Regions from separate parts of the Homo sapiens genome. Here regions 1, 2, 3, 4, 5 and 7 are each linked to region 6. Evidence: promoter capture Hi-C in 16 types of primary human blood cells and fetal thymus (Javierre and others, 2016). All regions are on one chromosome and are shown on one strand. The core of a region is centred on a gene start or on the middle of the fragment in contact, and the rest is flanking DNA. Distances in the headings are between cores, read along the strand shown.

Region 1 (3,018 bases), core at 229-2,728, 430 kb before region 6:
CTGTGTGGTATGTGTGTCTGTGTGTTGTGTAGTGTGTATTGTATTTATGCCCCTGTGTGTGTATCACTGAGTATACTCTGTGTGTGTTGTATCTGTGTGTGTATGTGCATGTGGTGTCTGTGTGTGTGTGTCTGTGTGTCTGTATGTACTCAGGTCTGGAGAGGCAATGCTGGGGGTGAGGCTGTTCCCCAGGGTGTCACCATGATGACCGGGCTGCTGTCTCAGGTTGTTTCACAGTCCCCAAGTAATGCATTCGCAGGAGATTTGAGCACAGGGCCTGGGGACTGGGTGACATCTGACATGGCTTCTCCTTTATCCTCTCACTTCTGTCTTTCTGGGCCAGAAAACATGGAATCGCTTCCCTAGTAGCCTGCTGGCTGTGAGAGACCAGCAGAAACTGTCAGAAACTTGGGAAGCAAGGGCAGGTCCTTGGTTGGAGAAATTGGAAATTAAAAAAAAAAATCTAATCTAAAAACCAGTAGGGCTCAATCCAGATTCCCAACTTTATTTCTCCTCCTCTTAGAACCTGCTGGATATTTTCATAGAGATGGAGAAGAGGGTCATCCTGGGAGAAGGAAAGTTGGACATCCTGAAAAGAGTCTGTGCCCAAATCAACAAGAGCCTGCTGAAGATAATCAACGACTATGAAGAATTCAGCAAAGGTAGAAACAACCTGACAGCCGGGAATCGGCAAAACCTACTCTAAAATTGAAACTGACAAATCGCTCCATATCACAGTTGTTTCTAATCAAATATTGTTTGGGGTTTCCCCTTTTAATTCAGAGAGAAGCAGCAGCCTTGAAGGAAGTCCTGATGAATTTTCAAATGGTAATGCTTGGAGATACATTTTCAAGATTTAGTTAATTTACTATCTGGTACCTGCATGTGTCCTCCCCACAGCCTTCTACCACATGCACATCTTAACGTGCCTGCTCTACTTTTTCTTTTTTTTTTTTTTTTTGTGAGACAGTTTTACTTTGTTTCCCAGGCTGGAGAGCAGTGGCACCATCTCGGCTCACTGCAATCTCCGCCTCCCAGGTTCAAGCAATTCTCCTGCCTCAGCCTCCTGAGAAGCTGGGATTACAGGTGCGTGCACCACCACGCCTAGCTAATTTTGTATTTTTATTAGAGATGGGGTTTTACTATATTGGCCTGGCTAGTCTCAAACTCCTGACCTCAGGTGGTCTGCCTGCCTTGGCCTCCCAAAGTGCTGGGATTACAGGCATGAGCCACTGCGCCCGGCCGCACCTGCTCTCCTAAGACCTGTAGCCCAAGCTGGCAAGTTTGAAATAGGTGCAGAGTTAGTCAGTAGTAAGTAATTTAACATCATTTTTTCTATGTGGCTTTTTTTTTCTCCTTGACGTGCTGCTCATGTTATGCACTGAGTAGCTGGATTTAAATTATGTTTCATAATTTTCTTGGTTAAGTCACTTTCTCTTTCAACACCTTCTACACTAAGTCACTCCTTTCAACTTCCTTTCACTTTTTCTACCTGATAAGCGAGGCTGAACCAAGAGAGAGAGCTCTCAACGATCTCCTTCAAAATTTTGATTAATCAAATAGTCTTTTTTTTTTTTTGAGACAGTGTCTCACTTTGTCCCCCAGGCTAGAATGCAGTGATGCAATCTTGGCTCACAACAGCCTCGACCTCCTGGACTCAGATGATCCTCTTGCCTCAACCCCCTGAGTAGCTGGGACCACAGGCACAAGCCACCATGCCCGGCTAATTTTTGTATGTCTTGTAGAGATGGGGTTTCGCTATGTTGCCCAGGCTGATCTTGAACTCCTGAGCTCAAGCCATCCACCTACCTGGGCCTCCCAAAGTGCTGGGACTATAGGCAATTAATAAAGTATTCTTTCTGATTAGAAAAATTATATACACTAATTGAAGATTATTTTAAATTCAGAGAAATTTTTACAAGTCCAAGAACACCATCACTCCATTCATATTATGAATATTTTTATTGTATTTTTACGTTGGCTCTTTGTGGTGTGTGTGTGTAAAATACATTTTGGATCACTCAAATGTATTTTAAAGATTAATGTCTATGCAGGCTGTCCTTCCCTTTCCCCTCTGCCTGCTGAGCCTAAGGCCTTAAGAATACTTTAAGGAGTAAAGTACTAAATCATTAATTCATCCTGAGCTAGTGGCTTTATTAATGAGTATCTCACAAATACCACAAAAATTCAACCTGGCCATGTGGAGCAATATAAAATTATGGCATTTCTTGGTATGTTTTTCTCTTTGGCGAGGAGACAACTTGATCTTGTGTTTCCAGAAGCATGTTAATTGCCCTGCTTGCAGAATCTCTCTGGCTTGAAAGGAGATTATATTCATGGCAGTCTGTGAATTTTCATTTTATTTCATTTATTTATTTGAGACAGAGTCTCACTCTGTTGCCCAGGCTGGAGTGCAGTAGTGCGATCTCAGCTCACTGCAACCACTACCTCCCAAGTTCAAGTGATTCTCCTGCCTCAGCCTCCTGAGTAGCTGGGACTACAGGTGGCTACCACCACGCCCGGCTAATTTTTTTGTACTTTTAGTAGAGACAGGGTTTCACCATGTTGGCCAGGCTGGTCTTGAACTCCTGACCTCAAGTGATCTGCCCATCTTGGCCTCCCAAAGTGCTGGGATTACCGGCGTGAGCCCCTGTTCCCAGCTTGAATTTTCATCTTAAAAAAGACCTTATGTTGTCCTATGTGCTACATATTTCATTACCAGTGTACCTTTCCTGCCATGTCTCATTCTAGATGTGTCTCTTCGTTGTTTGCAGGGGAGGAGTTGTGTGGGGTAATGACAATCTCGGACTCTCCAAGAGAACAGGATAGTGAATCACAGGTAGACGGAAACCTCCAAATCCTTTTTTTTACATTACAGATTCTAGTTATTTAATTTGTTAGCTTTTTTTTTTTTTTGCTGCCAGATAAACTGACAAGGGGCAGAAACTTACTGAAAATTTTGAGAACTGTAGAAAAAATTCACACAAAAAAAGTTAAAAATGTGACTTAATTTTTAAA
Region 2 (3,018 bases), core at 101-2,600, 470 kb after region 6:
ACAGGTCAAATCAGCAACCTCCAAATCAAAGTGGCTTTGAAAAATTGCTCTGGCTTTAAATACAAAACTTTCCACTTTCAGAGGCTGAGGCGGGCAGATCACAAGGTCAGGAGATCGAGACCATCCTGGCTAACACGGTGAAACCCTGTCTCTACTAAAAAATACAAAAAATTAGCCAGGTGCGGTGGCGGGTGCCTGTTAGTCCCAGCTACTCAGGAGGCTGAGGCAGGAGAATGGCATGAACCCAGCAGGCGGAGCTTGCAGTGAGCCAAGATCGCACCACTGCACTCTAGCCTGGGCAACAGAGTGAGACTCCGTCTCAAAAAAAAAAAAAACTTTCCACTCCTCTACCCCTGTCCAAAGTCCAGGGAAAGAATAAAATTTCAATTCTTATTTCAATTCTTGTTTATTTCCTAGGCCAATGGTTCTCAAACTTCAATGTGCATCAGAATCACCTGTAAGGCTTATTAAACTAAAGATTTCTAGGCCCCGCCCTCAGAGTTTCTGATTCATTAGATCTGGGCTGAGGCCTGACGATTTGCATTTTTAGTAAGTTCTCAGGTGATTCTGATGCTGGTGGACCAGCAACCACAGTTTTGAATCGCTGCCCTGGGCCTTGTTTCCAGTATGTATTTCCCTGAATTTGGCAGCAACTCAATTTAACCTGTTCTTTTAAAAACAGTAGGAAGGAATACTGGACACAGTCACTCATGGTTCCAACCCCAGCACTTTGGGAGGCAGGAGGATCACTTCAGACCAGAAGTTGTTGGAGACCAACCTGGGCAATATAGCAAGACCCCTCCCCATGCCCTGCATCTCGGCCTCTAAAAATTTTTTTTTAATTAGCCAGGCATGGTAGTGAGGACCTGCAGCCCTAGCTACTCAGGAGGCTGAGGCAGGAGGATCCCTAGAGCCCAGGAGTTCAAGGCTGCAGTGAGTTGAGACTGCACCACTGCACTCCAGCCTGGATGACAGAGCAAGACCCTGTCTCTAAGAAAATAAAATAATAATAATAATAATAGGTAGTGGGGAAGGAATTGGTTGGCAGGCACTGTTTAGGCAGCATCATTGTGATCAAGAGTACTGATTATGTAGTCTGATTCCCAGGGTTCAAGTTCTAGCACCACCACTTACTAGCTGTGTGACCTTGAGTAAGTTACTAAACTTCTCTGGGCATCTTTTTTCTTCCTCTGTAAAATGGGGATACTAACAGTACTTATCTCATGGGGTGGTTGTGACAAAGAAGAGTTAACTATGTAATGTGCTTAGAAAAGTACCCGTCATAGGGCCAGGCATGGTGGCTTACACCTGTAATCCCAGCACTTTGGGAGGCTGAGGCGGGTGGATCACAAGGTCAAGAGATCGAGACCGTCCTGGCCATCATGGTGAAACCCCATCTCTACTAAAAATACAAAAATTAGCCAGGTGTGGTGGCACGTGCCTGTAGTCCCAGCTACTCGGGAGGCTGAGGCAGGAGAATCACTTGAACCCGGGAGGCGGAGGTTGCAGTGAGCCGAGATTGTGCCACTGCATTCCAGCCTGACGACAGAGCAAGACTCTGTCTCAAAAAAAAAAAAAAAAAGAAAGAAAAAAAAAGAAAAGTACCCATCACAAAGTGCTCAAAAAGGGATATTCATCTACTCTTTAAAAATCTTTAATAGGAGCCACAATTTGCTCCTTGTCAGGAGAGCCTTATTCTAAGGTAATAACATAATGATTTCTTTACTTTCCCAGTCTGGGTGGCATAAGGGGTATTGGGGGTGCTTTTGGGGGATGCATGTAGTCCTCTGCTTAAGTCCAGGTATGGGCAGCAGACCCAAAATGAATGAAGCAGCCTTCCAGCCTCTGCATTCAGTGAAGTTACTGTGACATAACTCCTTGGGACATGACAGAACTGCTTTAAGAGTCTTAGGAGGAGTGAGAGATTTGGGGAACCCTGCATGAGGTGCAGGGGGTCCTTAAGGAGCAGCCTGGAACAATGTGGGGGTGGGGACGAAAGGCAGGTATTGTGGAAATTCTCAGAAACAAATAAGCCATTTCCATCATTTCTGTTCTGTCAAAAAAAGGAGGCCCAGAGCCCTATTGCCTTATTCAAGAGACAGATGTGTAGTAGATAGGATGTTGGTACAACTGTTCTAACAAAGGCCAAAGTAAAGTGACTTCAAACGAGATGGAAGGGTTATTCCTCTCTGATGGAAAAGTCTGAGCTGGCAGGCAGGGGGTCCCTGGGATCCATGAAGTCTAATTCAATTGCACAAATGCTTAATTGGGTGGCTACTAAGTACCACCTATAGCCCCATGTGTTATGTGAGCTGCTTGAAGGCAAGGATCATGCCTTATTCAGGCCTGGTAAATGTTTCCTAAATGAATGAATGAGTCAAATGTATGAATGAATGAATATGCTAAGTATTCAAAGGATTCAAAGATGACAAAACCAAGTTTCCTACCCTCAAGGCCTCACAGTGAAGACTTCAACTGCAGGCATGATGTTCACTGTGAGGAAACAGTGCCTCCCAGGGTTACTAAGGTCACAGCCCTCTAACTAGGGTGCAGTCAAGGAACCTACAGCCACCAGCCAGAACCTGCACCTTCACCATAGACCCAGAAGCAGCCAACAGGCAACAGGTAACTAATGCTGATGGGGAAGGAGGACACTGGCTCTGTCAGCTTCTCAGTGAGTGTCCCAGCAGCCAATGCCCTCATTAACCTGATAAGGCTGGTCTAATTCGTGGCTAGTGTACCAAGTCGTTTCATCATAGTGCAGTCTAGACCAGAGATTTTTGTAAGAACCACCTATCTAGACCCATTCTAGCTAGCACCTGGGAGCTTATTAGAAAAGAGAATCTGGGGTCTCACCCCAGACCTGCCTGTTAACAAGGTCCTCAAGTGATTCGTATGCCCACTGATGTCTGGGAAACACTGAAATCTATTCATCGAGGAAACTGGGTTTCAGATTCAAAAGACATGGATTCCTTTACCAGCTGTGCCTTTGATTAAGTCTGTAGTTTAGGGAAGGGC
Region 3 (2,964 bases), core at 269-2,768, 400 kb before region 6:
ACCTCCAGTGGCATCCCATTTGGAGAAAAGCAAGTGTTGGGCAGGGAGCGGAGCCCTTAAATCGGGCACCTTCTGAGAAGGTGGCATTTGAATAAAGAACAGGAGGAGGAAAGGAAGTTAGTCATGTGGATATCCGGGAAAGAGCTTTTCAGGAAGAGAGAACATCAAAGACCCCCAGGTAGGAACATCCTGGCCTGTTAAGGGAACAGCAAGGAGGCAAGTGCCTCTGGGGTGGAGTGATGTAGGGAAGAAATAGAAAGAGACAAGGTTAGAGGAAGGAAACATCAGCAAGGAGCAGGTGGAACAATCCCCAGGGCCAACACAAGGCTGGGAATAGTTCATGGTCCCACCAGGCAGAGTAGAAAATCCTTCTCATACAGAGGGTGTGGTGTCAAGTACTCAGAGGGTATTACCTCAATAGTGGGGAAAATTAGTTCCACACTAAAGACTGCTTTAGTTCTGCCCAACGAAGCTTAAAAAGCAAGGCTTGAAAGGATCAAACTGTTTCCAGGCAACTTAACTGCATCCCAGGGCAAAGCTTAAGAATATCTAAAGGAATATAAAAATATTCAGCACCCAACAAGGTAAACACCAAAATGACTGACATCCAAGCCAAACTTACCAGGCATGCAAACAAGGAAATATGACCATAAATGAGGAGAAAAATCAATGAAGAGAAACAGGCCCAGACATGACACAAATGACAGAATTCGTAGACAAGCTCATGAAAATAGTTATTATAATACACTGGGTATATCTTCCTCCAAAGCCCATTTCTTGAACTTGTAGGACACCACAGTCTGTTTGCCTTTCCATAATGCTGAAGCCCTGCCTGGGCTCTAAGATAGAATTCATTTACAATGCCTTTATAATGACTAATGTTTTCTCAAACGTGTCCATTCTGGATCCAAGTCAAATTTTCAGTGATGGAAGAATCACACATCACCTTGTGGATTTGAACGGCTCCTCTTCAGTTGTCTCCCACAGACTGCCATAATTTGCCCCAGAATAGAGTCCCTGAGGAAGTTATCATGTGTGAGGTACATTCAGAGCTTAAGGAGGGGCTTGGTGACAGAGTTTCAAAGGAGACAGTTTTATACTTTTCAGAGCTCAAAGGGAAGAACTTGGTGTTTTATAACTGAAAGATCATTTGTGGTTTGAACCTTGCTAGAAATGAAAGTCATTCAACATTGAAGATCACATAGTATATTGCTGATCTATTTGTTCAAATCAGACTTTAAAAAGACCCACTGGCTTTATTTTACAGATAATTTCAAAAATTCTTTTTAACTTATTGAATCCAGTAAACTCAGCTTTAGGTCTTCCATTTCTTATTGGCTTTGGGGAAATTATCATTGATTCCATTATACTGACAGCTTGTTATTTTATTGGTGTATTTGTAATATACCAAGTCCACAGGAAAGGATGAAAAAGCTTACCTCTTTGGTTTTTCTCAGCTCTTCTAATTGCAAGGTGTCACTTTGATGTTGTTTCAAGAGCTCCTAAAAACAATTTTATTGGGAAAAGGTTAGCACTGTGGTTCTGGCACATCTTCTAGGGAGTTAAGAAAGCCAGACTAGGATTCAGGAATATAATATTCACCAAAGCTTAGACACTGCTATAATGAAGCACACATTATAAACTAGTGACATGACTTGTTGAAGTTAATGAAAATCTTAATTATGTTCAACCTTATCTCACTGACAAATATTAAAAGAAATTATATTTTCATCAAAAGCTTTTCTTAAGTCAGTGGATAGATTCAATACTCTTAAGAATTAATCTCGCCACAGATTGATCTTTATATTCAATGAAATCCCAGTCAAAATATCAGCAAACTTCCTTGATAAGCTAATTCTAAATTGACAAGCTAGTTCTAACATTTATGTAAAAATACAAAGCATGTGGAAAGGCAAAATAATCTTGAAAAACAATAGCAAAGCTAGATAACCTTTGCTACCCGATTTCAAACTTCAGTAGTCAAGACAATGTGTTGTTGACCTAAGTATGGAAAAATAGTCAAACAGAACGGAGAGTCCTAACACCCCAAATACAGCAAAGACACTATATTAGTCTGATCTCACATTTCTATGAAGAACTACCTGAGAGACTGGGTAATTTATAAAGAAAAGAGGTTTAGGGGGAGTTTCCAAGATGGCCAAATAGGAACACCTCCAGTCTATAGCTCCCAGCATGAGTGATGCAGAAGACAGGTGATTTCTGCATTTCCAACTGAGGTACCAGGTTCATCTCACTGGGGCTTGTCAGACAGTGGGTGCAGGACAGTGGGTGCAGGCCACGGACCGGGAGCCGAAACAGGGTGGGGCACCGCCTCACCTGGGAAGCGCGAGGGGTCAGATAATTCCCTTTCCTAGCCAAGGGAAGCCGTGACAGACGGCACCTGGAAAATCGGGTCACTCCCACCCTAATACTGTGCTTTTCCAACAGTCTTAGCAAATGGCACACCAGGAGATTATATCCCATGCATGGCTGGGAGGGTCCCACGCCCACGGAGCTTTGCTCACTGCTAGCACAGCAGTCTGAGATTGAATGGCAAGGCAGCAGTGAGGCTGGGGGATGGGCGCCTGCTATTGCTGAAGCTTGAGTAGGTAAACAAAGCGGCTGGAAAGCTCGAATTGGGTGGAGCCCACCACAGCTCAAGGAGGCCTGCCTGCCTCTGTAGATTCCACTTCTGGGGGCAGGGCATAGCTCAACAAAAGGCAGCAGAAACTTCTGCAGACTTAAACATCCCTGTCTGACAGCTTTGAAGAGAGTAGTGGTTCTGCCAGCATGGAGTCTGAGATCTGAGAATGGACAGACTGCCTCCTCAAGTGGGTCCCTGACCCCCGAGAAGCCTAACTGGGAGGCACCGCCCAGTAGGGGCCAACTGACAACTCATACAGCTGGGTGCCCCTCTGAGATGAAGCTTTCAGAGAAACGATCAGGCAGCAACATTTGCTGTTC
Region 4 (2,979 bases), core at 232-2,731, 260 kb before region 6:
CCCATAATCATTCTTATCGTCCAATGATATATCTAAATCGGTGTTTCTCACTATCAAATTTTTACACAATTTCTACTTTTGTGCCCAGTAATCTATCATTAGCACTGCTTTCAGGGACAAAAATGGGATTTGTAATACAGAATACCTCAAAACTATGCACATATAAAACAAACATGCTATAAATAATAATAATGGCCGAGTTAAAATATTCATCTGTTGATGATCAGCACAGCTAAATCCCTTGCTCTGGAGTATACTTTGTCCCTATCCATAAAGTTCATAAGTTTCAAGTTTCAAGCAGAAGAGTTTCAAAGGATTTATAAGACCATATAAAGACTTTCTGTCCTATAGATTTATACCCTAAAATCATGATATTTTTGGATTATAGAATAAAAGAACACCAAACTCTTAAAGAAATTGCATAAGCAACTGAATAAGCAATATCAACATGTTTTCAAACTATACTTCTGGACAGGATTTCTATCTTTTGCTTGATGTCCCAGAGTGACAGTATCAAAGGAGATACATAAAAATGCTTAATACAGCATTAGCTAATATTTATACATCCCTAGTTTTATGCTTTGTCCCATCATCCATTTGTTTTCAAATTCACTGTTTCTATAAAAGGTCATGATTGGCTTAGAAATCTGAATAACAAAGCAAATTATTATTTGCCAGTCAAAAATAATTTAGTGACGGTCATATGTAGTTTAGTCAAAGGAAATAAGATAGCTCAAAAATACTAAAAGTAAAACTCAAACAGGTAGACTTCAGTCTCACATTCATAAGGCATTCTTGATTTCTTTCTTTTTTTTAATTTGAGACAGGGTCTTACTCTGTTGCCCAGGTTGGAGTGCAGTGGCATGATCTCCACTCACTGCAACCTTCGCCTCCTGGGCTCAAGCGATCCTCCCACCTCAGCCTCCCAAGTAGCCTGGACTACAGGCACCTGCCACCATGCCCAGCTAATTTTTGTATGTCTTTGTAGAGATGGGGTTATACCATGTTGTCCAGGCTGATCTTGAACTCCTGAACTCAAGTGATCTGCCTGCCTTGGCCTCCCAAAGTGCTGGGTTTACAGGCAAGAGCTACCATGCCTGGCCTTGATTTATTTCTTTAAAAGAAAGAGCAACTTGACATAAACTCTACCTGAAATTCTGTAGTCTCTTAAGTGAGCAATATCTTCTCTCTGCCATTTGGCATAAAAGCTACCCAAGGCTATATAATAATATTCACATCTAACACTGCAAAAGCCTTTTCAAGATAGGCTTTCTTATAACTTTTCAAGAATGGAGACTGAGTTTAGTATGCATTATTTAAATATTTGAAAGTTAGATTAATGGAGAAATTAAGTGTTAATAAAAGGGTTATTATTACCAAATCATACCTAACAAAGTACACATTTTATTATCTTAACAGCTGACAACAGTGCTTCTTTTAGGAAAGAAATACTTTTTGTTTGGGAAAAGACTTGGAAAAGTCTCTTAAGGTAGAAGGTAAGGCCTCATAGCATCAAAAAGAAGGCTAAACTGCTCTGCAAGAGACAGGGAAATAACTGTTTTTTCTTTCTCCTAAAAGGGAGAGGGAAGAGAGAGAGGTCTCATGGTGATGGCAGGAGCTCAGAGAGAACACCAGAAATCTGCAAAAATCATAAGGAGGGTTTTGGCTTCCCCATATGAAACCTTCACATGCAACTGAAGGTTTACAGCAACTATTTCACTCTTGAAGGGTCTGGACACTCAGCTGACACTTGGGTTAGACATATTAAAATATTACTTCACAAGGGCAGTTGCTGTCAATAATTTATATTCCAGGATATTAATAAAATATAGTTACCATATTTTTTATTTTTCAACAGAAAATTATGTCCTTTTGACTAAAGTAACGATTAAAAAAGGAAAAAAAACAAGTATAGGTCTTCAAAAATGAGGAATGCAGAGTAAATGGCATCATAGAATTCATGGATTTCCTGTTCTCTTAACCAAAAATGGGGGAATACATCTCAAGCAGAGGCATTTTATACAATAGAATCTGTGGGTACTAAAATATGTACTGTACTTCTAGAAACAAATAAATCCTTCCTGAACAAGTCAGAAAGAATTTTCTTTCAATGATGACTGGCAAAATTTAGGCGCTAGTTTCAATAAAAAGACACCATTGGCCGAAAACCTGGAAATACTTCACAGAAGATTAGAAACAGACTGAATAGATGACAATTGTGCTAACAGATTTAAGAATATTTCTGTATAATCTGCTCTTCAGAATTTATCCTCAAATCAAATAGCTAGGAAGACCCCTTGAAATGGCACTTTCACATAGCAGTAAGGAAAATACAAATTTTAAAAACAGCAACAAGTCAAGAAGAGGTAGAAAATCTATGTCCTCATTTCTCTTTGTCCTCTCTAACAATAAAACACAAATTTGCTTTTGGTGGCTTAAGATGACTCTAAATCCTTCAGTTATTTAAAAATTATAGTCCTTAAGGCCTTCAGAAGCAGAAGTCCCCATATGATCAGTGTCAAAAGAAAAACTATAGGCAATATAGCTCTTCAAGTCAACGAAGTAATCAGTGGCACCAGGACGTGCAATCTTATATGACCAGAACAGAGGGTAACTTAAAATGGCGGTGAGTGATGGTCAGGATGGAGTATTATAAACACATATAATTCTAGATTTATTCTAGAATTATCTGCATATTAAAGACATACCTATTTTAGTAATGTAATTCTACTAGGCGAGAGACTTTCTAATTACAGTATGTTTAGACATAAGACTCATTGTTTTTCAAAACCAGTTGTCACAGACAACTCAAGGGCTTTGAAGATAAGGTTACTTTTTGAGGGAGAATTAACATGCAATAGACGCCTTTGGTTTGCCCATGAACTTCAGGGCAAATAAGAACAGGTAAATTTTTTGAGATATGGCTACTGGCTATCTGCAATCCAGGAGGTTATTAGATTCAGAGCTTGAAGGCTATAA
Region 5 (3,052 bases), core at 508-3,007, 440 kb before region 6:
TGCACAGTGCTTAACAAATGCACTGTTATTATATCATTAAAAGTGACTCCTGGGTGGTGGGAATGGTTGCATAACGACGTGAATGTACTTGATGTCACTTAAAACTGGTTACAATGGTAAATTTTATGGTATATATATTTTACCACAATTAATACATTTTAAAAGATGGTTCTTGACAATTATTCTTAGCGTCTGAGGTGCCCCATTTCTTGGGTATGGGCATATAGTGCCTCAAGAATATTGGGGATCCTCACCTCTTCTATGCCCAAACCTTTAAGAAAATTCTGGGCCAGGCGCAGCGGCTCACAGCTGTAATCCACCACTTTGGGAAGCCGAGGTGGGTCGATCACCTAAGGTCGGGAGTTCGAGACCAGCCTGACCAACATGGAGAAAACCCGTCTCTACTAAAAATACAAAATTAGCTGGGTGTGGTGGCACACACCTGTAATCCCAGCTACTCGGGAGGCTGAGGCAGGAGAATCGCTTGAACCCAGGAGGCGGAGGTTGCGGTGAGCCGAGATTGCACCATTGCACTCCAGCCTGGGCAACAAGAGCAAAACTCCATCTCAAAAAAAAAAAAAAAATTCTGGAAAAGCTAGGTCAGTGACATGAATATTGGAATCAGAGTCTAACAAACTCAATTTCTTCCTTTCTAAATCCGTGGTACGGATTCATGTCTGCAGTAGTTTTTCTGAGAAAGCAGAAGGGGTAGGTATTGGCAATCAACAAGCTGCAGAGTATGCAGATTGAGGTCAGTAACTGTAAATGCCCCATGACTGTCTGATCATTTTAATACCAAAAGAAAAACTTAAAATCCCAGTTGCTAAAATCTTTGTCTTAGACAACTCTTTGAGCCTCTCCCTACAAGGCCCAGAAAGGAATGAGATAGATGTGAATGGAATCTGTTTTCCCTTCCCTTGCCACGCTCTGGAGGAGGAGTCTAGGGCAGTAGCCAAGGCCAGCTGCCAGTCAAGGAAAGGGGAGCGGCCCCGTTGAATCCACAAACCACACCATCCTGGCCCATGGGTTATATACAAACTCCCACATTGGCAACAAACAAAGGGCATGCACATTCAGGGGATTTTGCTTTCACTGTGAGTGTTTATCTTTGAAGGGTGTCACATCAAGATGAATGGGAAGGGTGTGTTGCAGTTGAGCTGAGGTTTGGTCTTTCTTGGCTTTTTTAGGGACACTTACAGGTCCAAATCTGCTTTCAGCCGGCTGGTGGACATGGTAGGAGACACAGTAGTCTCAGGACCAGGCCTCCAGGTGGGAGCTGAGATTCTAGAGGGTGGAAACCACTTGGAGATTGAGTCAAAGCAGACCTGTCCTCATTCTGTGCTGGGCAGGAGCCAGCTCTCCATGTCCCTGCAGCTCCAGCAACACCTCCGGATCTTTCAGCTTCCCTGGGACTAAGGACCATGCACATTATTAATTCTGATATAAACAGTCACACAGGCACATGTCTCAAGATGAGGGTGAGAAGTTGGTTACAGCAAATGAAGTAATAATGATCTTTGTGCTTCACAATAGGAATTCAACCAACCTGAGGTTTATAATTCACTTATTAACACTTTTTATTTTTGTTGAGACGGAGTGTCCCTCTGTCACTCACGCTGGAGTGCAATGGTGTCATCTCGGCTCACTGCAACCTCCGCCTCCTGGGCTCAAGTGAGTCTCGTGCCTTGAGTGGCTGAGACTACAGGCACATGCCACCATGCCCAACTAATTTTTTTGTATTTTTAGTAGAGATGGGGTTTTGCCATGTTGGCTAGGCTGGTCTCAAACTCCTGGCTTCAAGTGATCCGCCTACCTCAATCTCTTCAAGCGCTGGGATTACAGGGGTAAGCCACTGTGCCTGGCCATAATTCATTTATCAGTCATATATATATACACACACACTGGGAGAATCTAGGGTCAGTGCCTTACAAATGGCACAAGTTGAAGCCCTGAGACTCCCACTCCTACCCTGCTCCCCCCATTCTCAGTACTGCTCCTCAGATGCCTCCAGCAGATCATCCATTTCTGCTAGGCTGGGCCTGGGTACATGCAGGGAGATGTGTACAGGGGCTAAGAGCAGAAACTTTTGAGTGAGACACTCCTGAGTTCATGCACTGGCCCTGCCATTTGTCAGCTAATTGATGTTGCATTTAATTGCATCATCTGTATGTAAGCCTAATAATTTATAGCCATCTTAGAGATGTTGTGAGCTTAAATAACATAGTAGTGAATATTTATTTATTTGTTTATTTATTTATTTAGACAGGGCCTCGCTCTGTCACCTAGGCTGGAGTGCAGTGGTGTGATCATAGCTCACTGCAGCCTTGACCTCCCACACTCCAGTTATCCTCTCACCTCAGCCTCCTGAGTAGCTTGAGACAACAGATGCATGCCACCATAACTGACTAATTTTTTAAAATTTTCTGCAGAGACAGTGTCTCCCTATGTTGCCCAGGCTGGCCTCGATCTCTTGGGCTCAAGCGATCATCCTGCCTTGGTCTTCCAAAGTGCTGGGATTACTGGTGTGAGCCACTGCACCCACAGCCTATTTATTGAGAAATGTGGAAGGCCCAGGCACTATTCTAAGTGCTCCAGCTGTTTTATCTCCCACAGTTTTGCTCAGATAGGAGTTCCAAAGCTGGAGCTGGAAGACTCATATTTTTAGAAATGTTACAGTTAATTCTGAGGTGGGTCAGATTGAGATTCATGGCTATGCATTAATGTTTAGGTGGTGACTAACCACTCAGGGTTTTAGAGACAAACAGACCTTATTCTGTCACTCACTGACTGAGCGTGGCCAAGTCTTTCAGCCTCTCTAAGCCTCAGTGTCCTCATCCATAAAATGGGACCAATCGTAGCATCCACTTCTGAGAACTGTTCAGAAGTGGAAATGAGCTAGTTTAGGTGGCTGTGTCTGGCATACGCCAATGGTTTGATAAGTATTAGCTTGTGCCTTTATTAGGCCAACTCCTTTTTGTTAGGTGACTGAGAAACCAAGGACCTTCTGCCCTTTATGCACCAGTCACTATTAGTTTAAATTTGTTGCTCTTCC
Region 6 (3,451 bases), core at 490-2,989:
CTTCAGGTTCCTATGACAAATTTATGGTGGACTGAATGTTGTGTCCCCACCCCCAATTCAGATGTTGAAGCCCTAATCCCCATTGTTGATGGCATTTGAAGATGGGGCCTTTGGGAGGTAACTGGGTTAAGGTCATGAGGTAGAGGCCTCAAGATGTCATTAGCGTCTGGGTAAGAGCCATCAGAGTTCATGTGTTCTCTCTCTCCCTGCCAGATGATGGCACAGTGAAAACGCGGCCATCTGAAAGCCAGGAAGAGAACCCTCGCAAGAACCCAACCATGCTGGCATCCCAATCTTCAACTTCCAGCCTCCAGAACTGTATGAGAAAATACATTTCTGTTGTTTAAGCCACTGTCTATGGTACTTTGTTATGACAGCCAAAGCTAAGACAAAACTCATAGAAAAAAACTTCCAGAAAATGATTTTCCCTCCCTCCAGGTAGCTAAGAAAACAGTTGCAACTTCTTGCCCTCATAGCACTTCTCATTTTCCCAGTTCTTGTATCCACTGGCTTGCTCAGTGTCTGTCTCCCGCAGGTGTCATGTCTGCAGAGGGCCTGGGGAGCAGAGATGTTGCTTATCTTGTTCATGCTGCAGCTTCACCTGCAACAGTGCTTGGGCCATAGCAAGCACTTGGTATGTTCAGTTGTTGTTGGGAAGGGGTAGAACAAGGAGAGGCCAAGATCCAGAAGTAAAAGGCTGATACCTCCCTCAAGGCAGTAGCCAGCAGCTGGGACTTCAATCCTAATGGGGGAGGCAGCTGAACTCCAGAGGCCTGTGCCCTCCCTTCCTTTCCTCCCTGGCCTGGTATCCTGACTTAAACCTCTTTCCCTATCAAACTTTAAAACTGGGGGCAGAAGCGGATCTTAGAGATAATCAAATGCAAAACCTTTGTTTTACAGATAAGGAATCTGACATTCAAGGAGGTATTCAGTAGAGTTAACATGTAGTAAAATCGAGTTTTCCTCTTTTGTTTCCTTAGTCCTGAAAGATGCTGATGCCTGGCATGATGCCTGGCAAAAGACTTACCTTCCTTTCCATGACTTCTGTACCAAATTTGTCAGTTGAAGCTTATCTATTTCTGCTATCTTGAGAGTGAGAATTCTTGATTGAGACTGCAAATAAGTAAGCACCCACCACATGCAATTCCGGACTGAGTACACAGAAAGGATAGCCAGTTCTTGACTCAGAAGATGCATTAGTGTGACTGATGCCTAAGGAATTTGTCCTAAATCTTGTTTTAAAAGTATTTCCATTAGCTTTTTAAAACGTACTATTAAATGCCACAACCCCCTACCCTTACTATGCTTGTTTTTCAAAATAGTGCTTTTTACTAGACAAACCCTAAAAAAGCACTTGGAAACTTAATGATGAGAAATGGCCCTTACAAAAATAGCTGGCTTCCTCTGGGTCCAAATGCTGTTGATTAGGACCAGGGCAAATGCCCATTGTACTCAATCTTCCTGACAACTCATTATTCCATACTGAAGAAATGGCTTCTCGAAGCAAAACCTGCTCTTTCAAGATCATAAAATTCCCCATATCATTTGAGTTAAAATGAAACTAAGCCATTTGAGTTAGATTACCCAGATTTATATCTTTAGCTATTAAAAACTGACAGGCAAGCTAGGCAGTTATGGATACATCTTCTGGTAACTGAGGATTATTTGCCAAGGTCTCTTACCTGCAAGACTGTAAACATGCATGTTGCTCCTATCCAGACAAAAGCTTTAGTAGGATACTAGTGGCCTGTTAGCTGCCAAAGTCACCTCACTGCTCCCGATAAAATCTCTGCACATCCTCTTTGATGTAATCCACAGATGCCTAACCCAGCCTAACAACTAAATTACTCACAAGCCTTTCCTGCCACAAATCTTCTTAAGTATTCCTTGAAGTCTAATTTGTATCATTTTCAAACCTACATTCTAGTATTTTCTCTCAAATTGCCAACACATAGTTAACGGCAGAAAAACATAGTATTTTTGTTGATTAGTTCAAGATGACAGACATTCCACAACAGAAGATAGCATTTTTAATGAAAGAAAAAAATGTGGCAGGACCGGAAATAAGCCAATAACCTACTAACCTTATTAAATCTCTCATGTTATGGTGAGAAAACAACTGAAGACTGTTCAGCTAATAATAGAAACCCATCAAAAACAGTACCTTCTGGTCAATCCCCTCCCAAGCCACTGTTCTGAACCTAACAAATAGTGCTTTCTGTCTCAGATAGGAGCTACTTCTTTATCTGAAAACTTAATACTGCAGGGAGTGCTCAGTGGGGAGAGCATTTGGAAGGGGATATTGCAGAAAGGAGAGGAAGGTATTGCTGACAGCAAGGCAAAAGGTAGAGACCAAATGGCAATTATCAGAGGGTCCTCAGCCCTTCTACCCATATTAATCACATGGCTTTCCTTATCTCTCCATCATAGATGAAAACACAAGTTGGGAATGTGATACATTTGTGTTTTGAGTACAGCATATTTTGTGAAAAGCACTTGATTTCAATAAGATTTTCATTTTTAACTCACTTTTAAGAACTTTCAATACATAACCAGCTATGAAATGACATCTCTGGCAGCTGTAGTAGCAAAAAGCACTGGACTTCTAGGGAAGTAGGGAGTAGGGAAGTTCTAGGCTGGAGTCCCAGCTCTGGCAGTGAGCAAATCTTGGTCACTGCTTGTCTGAAAAATGGGGGGAAATGGGGATAACACCTGCATCCTTGGGCTGCTGTAAGCATTCATTACGCATGTGAATGACCATTGTAAACTGCTGCAGGAGTGCCAAGGACTTCTATTTACAAACATTGGCCTGGAGATTTAGGGTTTTTCTTCCAATACACTTCAAAATTTATAACTTTAATATGCTATCTGAAAAGCATATAGTAGGAAGAATCCAAAGTAACTGAACAGTTTCATTCAAGACTCCAGTAAAAGGACGAATTGTAACATGGCTTTTCTTAGAACAGAGACAGCCTATCATCATTGGAAATCTTCTCAATGGGTCAATTTGTCTCAAAGTTTTTGTTTGTCCATTTCCACATATTATCCACCCCCGCCCAGAGTCAGAAATTCTGTAAATTTGGCTTTACCAGGCAAATGTGGTTATTTATGTGTTTGTTCAGAAACTCAAAACAATCTCCAATGTAAATGCAAAGTATTTAACATAAACGGATTTTTAAGGGTTGGTCCCCTTCCAACAGAGGACAGGCACATTCTGGTAGAGGCAGCAACAAGATGGAAAGGCCTCTTGAGAAAACATTACAACTGGGAGATAATTAATATCTAACGTTTCTAAGCAGAATTTTAAAGCCTCACCTTCCCTTCCCTCGATCTGTTTAGGAGGAAAAAAAATAACGAGTAACTATCAAAATATGCTTTTTATTCAAAGAAATAATAGATTTCTTTGGAGACCCGTGTCCTTGGGTTATTGGGGTCAGAAAGTTAATTTGCT
Region 7 (3,227 bases), core at 209-2,708, 320 kb before region 6:
GTTTTATTTTATTTTACATTAGGAAGAAAAAACCACAATCTCAAAGCAAGCACCCGGGTTTTACTTCAGTTTACAATAATTTAATGTGCCTGAGAATTTTTGTGCAAATACATGTCATCTTTCATTAAAAATATGCATAGCGCACTTTGGAAAAAGTTGGTTTAGTTGTCACCAACTTTTCTTACAAAAAAAGTTTACATATATAAATATACAACATTCCCTAATTCCTATTGATTGCACTTCTGGCTTAACCCCTTCCAGCCTCCAAGGAATTTTTAAAAACATGCAATTATGTTTGTATTCCTTGGCTACTGTACTTATTCAGACGAAATATTCTAAAAACAAGTTTTCTTGGTTTCAATTTACTCACATTTTGCCTCTTAAAAGTAAATCCCTCCCACCCTCTACCCAGTTGTTTTTTTTTTTGGAGGTTGTATAAAAATACAAATTTAAAAAATGAACTTTTATTAATCATAAATACAAAATAATTGAGTGGTATTTGGGCTCCCAGGGGCTCAAAGGCCTGAAAACAGAAAGGAAAATAGGAGTCTCCACCTGTGATTCAATGAAAAAGATGAAACTCCTAATTTTGCTAATGCTGCGAGCATACCATTTGATGGATACATAATTTAACCAGATATTAACAGGGGAAACATATAAGCCATCTCACTATTGTCTCAGTAATAGACTGAGCTTACCCCACCAACCCCTCAGAACGGCTTTCTATAAGCAATAAAACTGCTCCTTTTCTCTTCCCATCCTTCTAACCTGGGTTCTCTCTGCTTTATGCTTACCAGAAGTAAATGTGCCAGCAAGTTCAGTATCTCTGTATGTTTTAGTATTACTGAATTTATTTGTATTCACTTTTTATGTTCAAGACAAGAAAACTCAACTGAAGGAGTATATTAAACCTTTCTTTTCTCCCTCTGAACACTCATGGCCCATTCATTTATACTTTCAATTTGCCCGACTTCCTCCATTAGGGCTCATCCCAATTTTATTTCCATTCCTCCATTCCCCCTTTCACATTCACAACCCTTGTGCAACATTCCTTTTCTCTCAAGTCAGACCAGACCACATGTTTCAGTGCATATCTATCCTTCATGTGCTAACTTGTATAAAAGGTCAGTTAACTGCTGAACCTCAGTCCTCCTTCAGGACACCCATTTTGGGTGAGGATGTGCAAACTGGGGCAGCAAAGCTACCCATTATGACTGGAAGACTCTGATTCCTCCTTAGTCCACCTAATAAACTGCTACCTGAATTTAAATAAACAGCAGAATCTGGTTTTTGAGGACCAATTTCTGCCTCCTGGCATCTTCCATTCTCTTGGGCACCAGGGTTCTTGACCACTCTGGCTATCCCCAGTCTCTTCAGCCTGTCCACTAAGTTCATCTTCAACTGGCCAACATCAGGAGGGTTCCGGGAGGGTCTCAAGCCATACATCTCCTGGAGGAATGTCTCAGCTGGTCGAGAGGCCAAAAAATTTTCAGAGAGATGCACTCGAGGCTCAAAGGGTAAAGGAGAAGGGCAAGGTGAGTGAGATGGTGAATTTGGTGGTGTGGAAGGGATAGCCAGGGATTTAGGGAGAGGCTGGAGGGGGTTCTCTGAAATTGGGCTGTGGTACACTTTGGCAGAGATGCCTCGCTCTTGTAGAAGTTTGGCCAAGCTCATGGTGCTACTGAAGGTTGTAGTGGAATCTCGTCGGTTGGTGATGGACTCACCAATGCTGAGTCTATAGGACAAGGCAGGAGAATTCACAGCCGTGTTGGATGAACTGCTACCGCTACTTCCACAGGATAATGAAGGGAACCCAGAGCTTAAAAAAAAAAAAAAAAAGTGGGAGACAGTGTTTAAGAATAAAAAGCAAGCTCCAAGCTGGCATTTAAAGAAATTATAGTAGTTATCCTTGGTAAATATAAAGTAACAGGCAACAAACACATCCGTAACTGTATGCTGTGGAACAGATCTGGGGAATGAAAATTTTGACATGATACTTCAATGATTAATTATTTGTAATTCATAACTTAGTAATTAACTTATTAAAAGATATTTCTTTTCAGTGGGATATGAAAGGTATTGCTGTACTCTTAGATAACTTTACTCTTAAATTTTAACTCTAAAATGTACATCTGTAGAAATACAGTTAAATTTTATGATAGAAGGCAAAGAAATTTGAAGATTAAGGAAAGTAATTTAGAATGTTTATTCATATATCCATTCCATAAAGTGAGATACATTGAGACAATAATCCATGGGTAAACAGTTTACCAACTTTTAAAAAAATACAATCTTTCACAATTAAACATGAAAACTCTTCTGGGAGAAGTTTCTTTCTTTTTAATCTTTTAATTTTATTTCATTGAGAAATAAAAACTTCTAATTGTTAAATTTCATTTTCTCAAGAAATGTTAATTTCAAACAATAATGGTATAAAAATATCCATAGGATGAATTTTTTCTCAACCTTGACCTGAAACATGTGTTTTTAGGAAATTAAAAATAACTAATAGCTTCGACAACTATTCAGTAATACTTCTTCAGTATTACTTCAGTATTCAGTAATACTACTGAATATACAGAAGTGAAGGTGAGCTTGTGCAGAGGACTGGCCCTGTAAATCTTGCAGTTTGGCTAACTCCGGGTATATAGCCCCAGCTGGGTTATTAGTTGTCTGCCCTAGGACCAGTCACCTCAACCTTCCATGCCTCGGTTTACTTTACACAATACATACTTGCCTTGCCTACTTTTATAATAATCAAATGAGAAAATTCTTATTCTATGCTTAGTCGAAAAGAAAAACTAACGAATCATGTACTTGAGGAAACAGTGATGAAATAGAGATGGTACTTCTTTAGCCAATTTCCCTGCAAAACAAATGTTACCAGTATTTAATAGATCAACTTTCACTTCAACATAAAATACTCAATATATTAAATATCAAGATATCAAAAATTTTAAAGATTATGAACAAAATGTAAGCTTAAAATTAACAAACTTTCTAAAGCACCAACTTGTATAGGAACAGCAAAATTCAAATGAGTTTGACTCCCTGGTCAAACCAGTCCAACTAAAAGCCTCTGATATGGAACAGTCTATATATTGTATTCCCAGTCTCTAAATCTCCCTATTTCTACTAGACTCTAGAACTGCCTGTCCTTACCCAAACTGTACACTTCATATAATGGCATCAACCTGTATTAAGAGTCTCCTCAAGAACCAATTTTG

The links. Contacts are between HindIII fragments. The CHiCAGO score rates a contact against its expected background, and 5 or more counts as called.
Region 1: a fragment that was not itself captured here is called in contact with the fragment with the promoter of MPP4 in region 6 in 2 of 17 cell types (erythroblasts and megakaryocytes); the score reaches 7.4 in erythroblasts.
Region 2: a fragment that was not itself captured here is called in contact with the fragment with the promoter of MPP4 in region 6 in 1 of 17 cell types (fetal thymus); the score reaches 5.2 in fetal thymus.
Region 3: a contact is called between a fragment that was not itself captured here and the fragment with the promoter of MPP4 in region 6, in 1 of 17 cell types (erythroblasts). The highest score is 5.3, in erythroblasts.
Region 4: a fragment that was not itself captured here is called in contact with the fragment with the promoter of MPP4 in region 6 in 1 of 17 cell types (endothelial precursors); the score reaches 5.7 in endothelial precursors.
Region 5: a contact is called between a fragment that was not itself captured here and the fragment with the promoter of MPP4 in region 6, in 1 of 17 cell types (endothelial precursors). The highest score is 5.8, in endothelial precursors.
Region 7: a contact is called between a fragment that was not itself captured here and the fragment with the promoter of MPP4 in region 6, in 1 of 17 cell types (erythroblasts). The highest score is 6.4, in erythroblasts.

What each region holds. Positions count from the first base shown.
Region 1 is chr2:201,272,115-201,275,132 of GRCh38, forward strand. It overlaps CASP8 (caspase 8), which reads left to right. Exons shown (of 9, transcript NM_001372051.1): 4 at 524-662; 5 at 784-828; 6 at 2,775-2,839. Among named protein-coding and RNA genes, the nearest start is that of CASP8, 13 kb to the left of the region's middle. The HindIII fragment of the contact is 7,281 bases long and covers 1-3,018 here.
Region 2 is chr2:202,166,853-202,169,870 of GRCh38, forward strand. The region is part of intron 15 of KIAA2012; the gene reads left to right. Among named protein-coding and RNA genes, the nearest start is that of KIAA2012-AS1, 51 kb to the left of the region's middle. The HindIII fragment of the contact is 4,560 bases long and covers 1-3,018 here.
Region 3 is chr2:201,297,799-201,300,762 of GRCh38, forward strand. FLACC1 (flagellum associated containing coiled-coil domains 1) reads right to left here. Exons shown (of 15, transcript NM_001127391.3): 12 at 1,440-1,502. Among named protein-coding and RNA genes, the nearest start is that of CASP8, 39 kb to the left of the region's middle. The HindIII fragment of the contact is 173 bases long and covers 1,433-1,605 here.
Region 4 is chr2:201,434,255-201,437,233 of GRCh38, forward strand. The region is part of intron 1 of TRAK2 (trafficking kinesin protein 2); the gene reads right to left. Among named protein-coding and RNA genes, the nearest start is that of TRAK2, 16 kb to the right of the region's middle. The HindIII fragment of the contact is 6,958 bases long and covers 1-2,979 here.
Region 5 is chr2:201,253,514-201,256,565 of GRCh38, forward strand. It overlaps a transcript of CASP8 not described here. Among named protein-coding and RNA genes, the nearest start is that of CASP8, 5.5 kb to the right of the region's middle. The HindIII fragment of the contact is 6,710 bases long and covers 1-3,052 here.
Region 6 is chr2:201,696,905-201,700,355 of GRCh38, forward strand. MPP4 (MAGUK p55 scaffold protein 4) reads right to left here and starts at 1,740. Exons shown (of 22, transcript NM_033066.3): 1 at 1,683-1,740. ALS2 (alsin Rho guanine nucleotide exchange factor ALS2) reads right to left here. Exons shown (of 34, transcript NM_020919.4): 34 at 3,363-3,451. RefSeq lists enhancers at 2,370-2,871, 2,872-3,371. The HindIII fragment of the contact is 2,266 bases long and covers 1,725-3,451 here.
Region 7 is chr2:201,379,400-201,382,626 of GRCh38, forward strand. It overlaps TRAK2 (trafficking kinesin protein 2), which reads right to left. Exons shown (of 16, transcript NM_015049.3): 16 at 1-1,819. The coding sequence ends at 1,144. Among named protein-coding and RNA genes, the nearest start is that of FLACC1, 24 kb to the left of the region's middle. The HindIII fragment of the contact is 3,042 bases long and covers 1-2,979 here.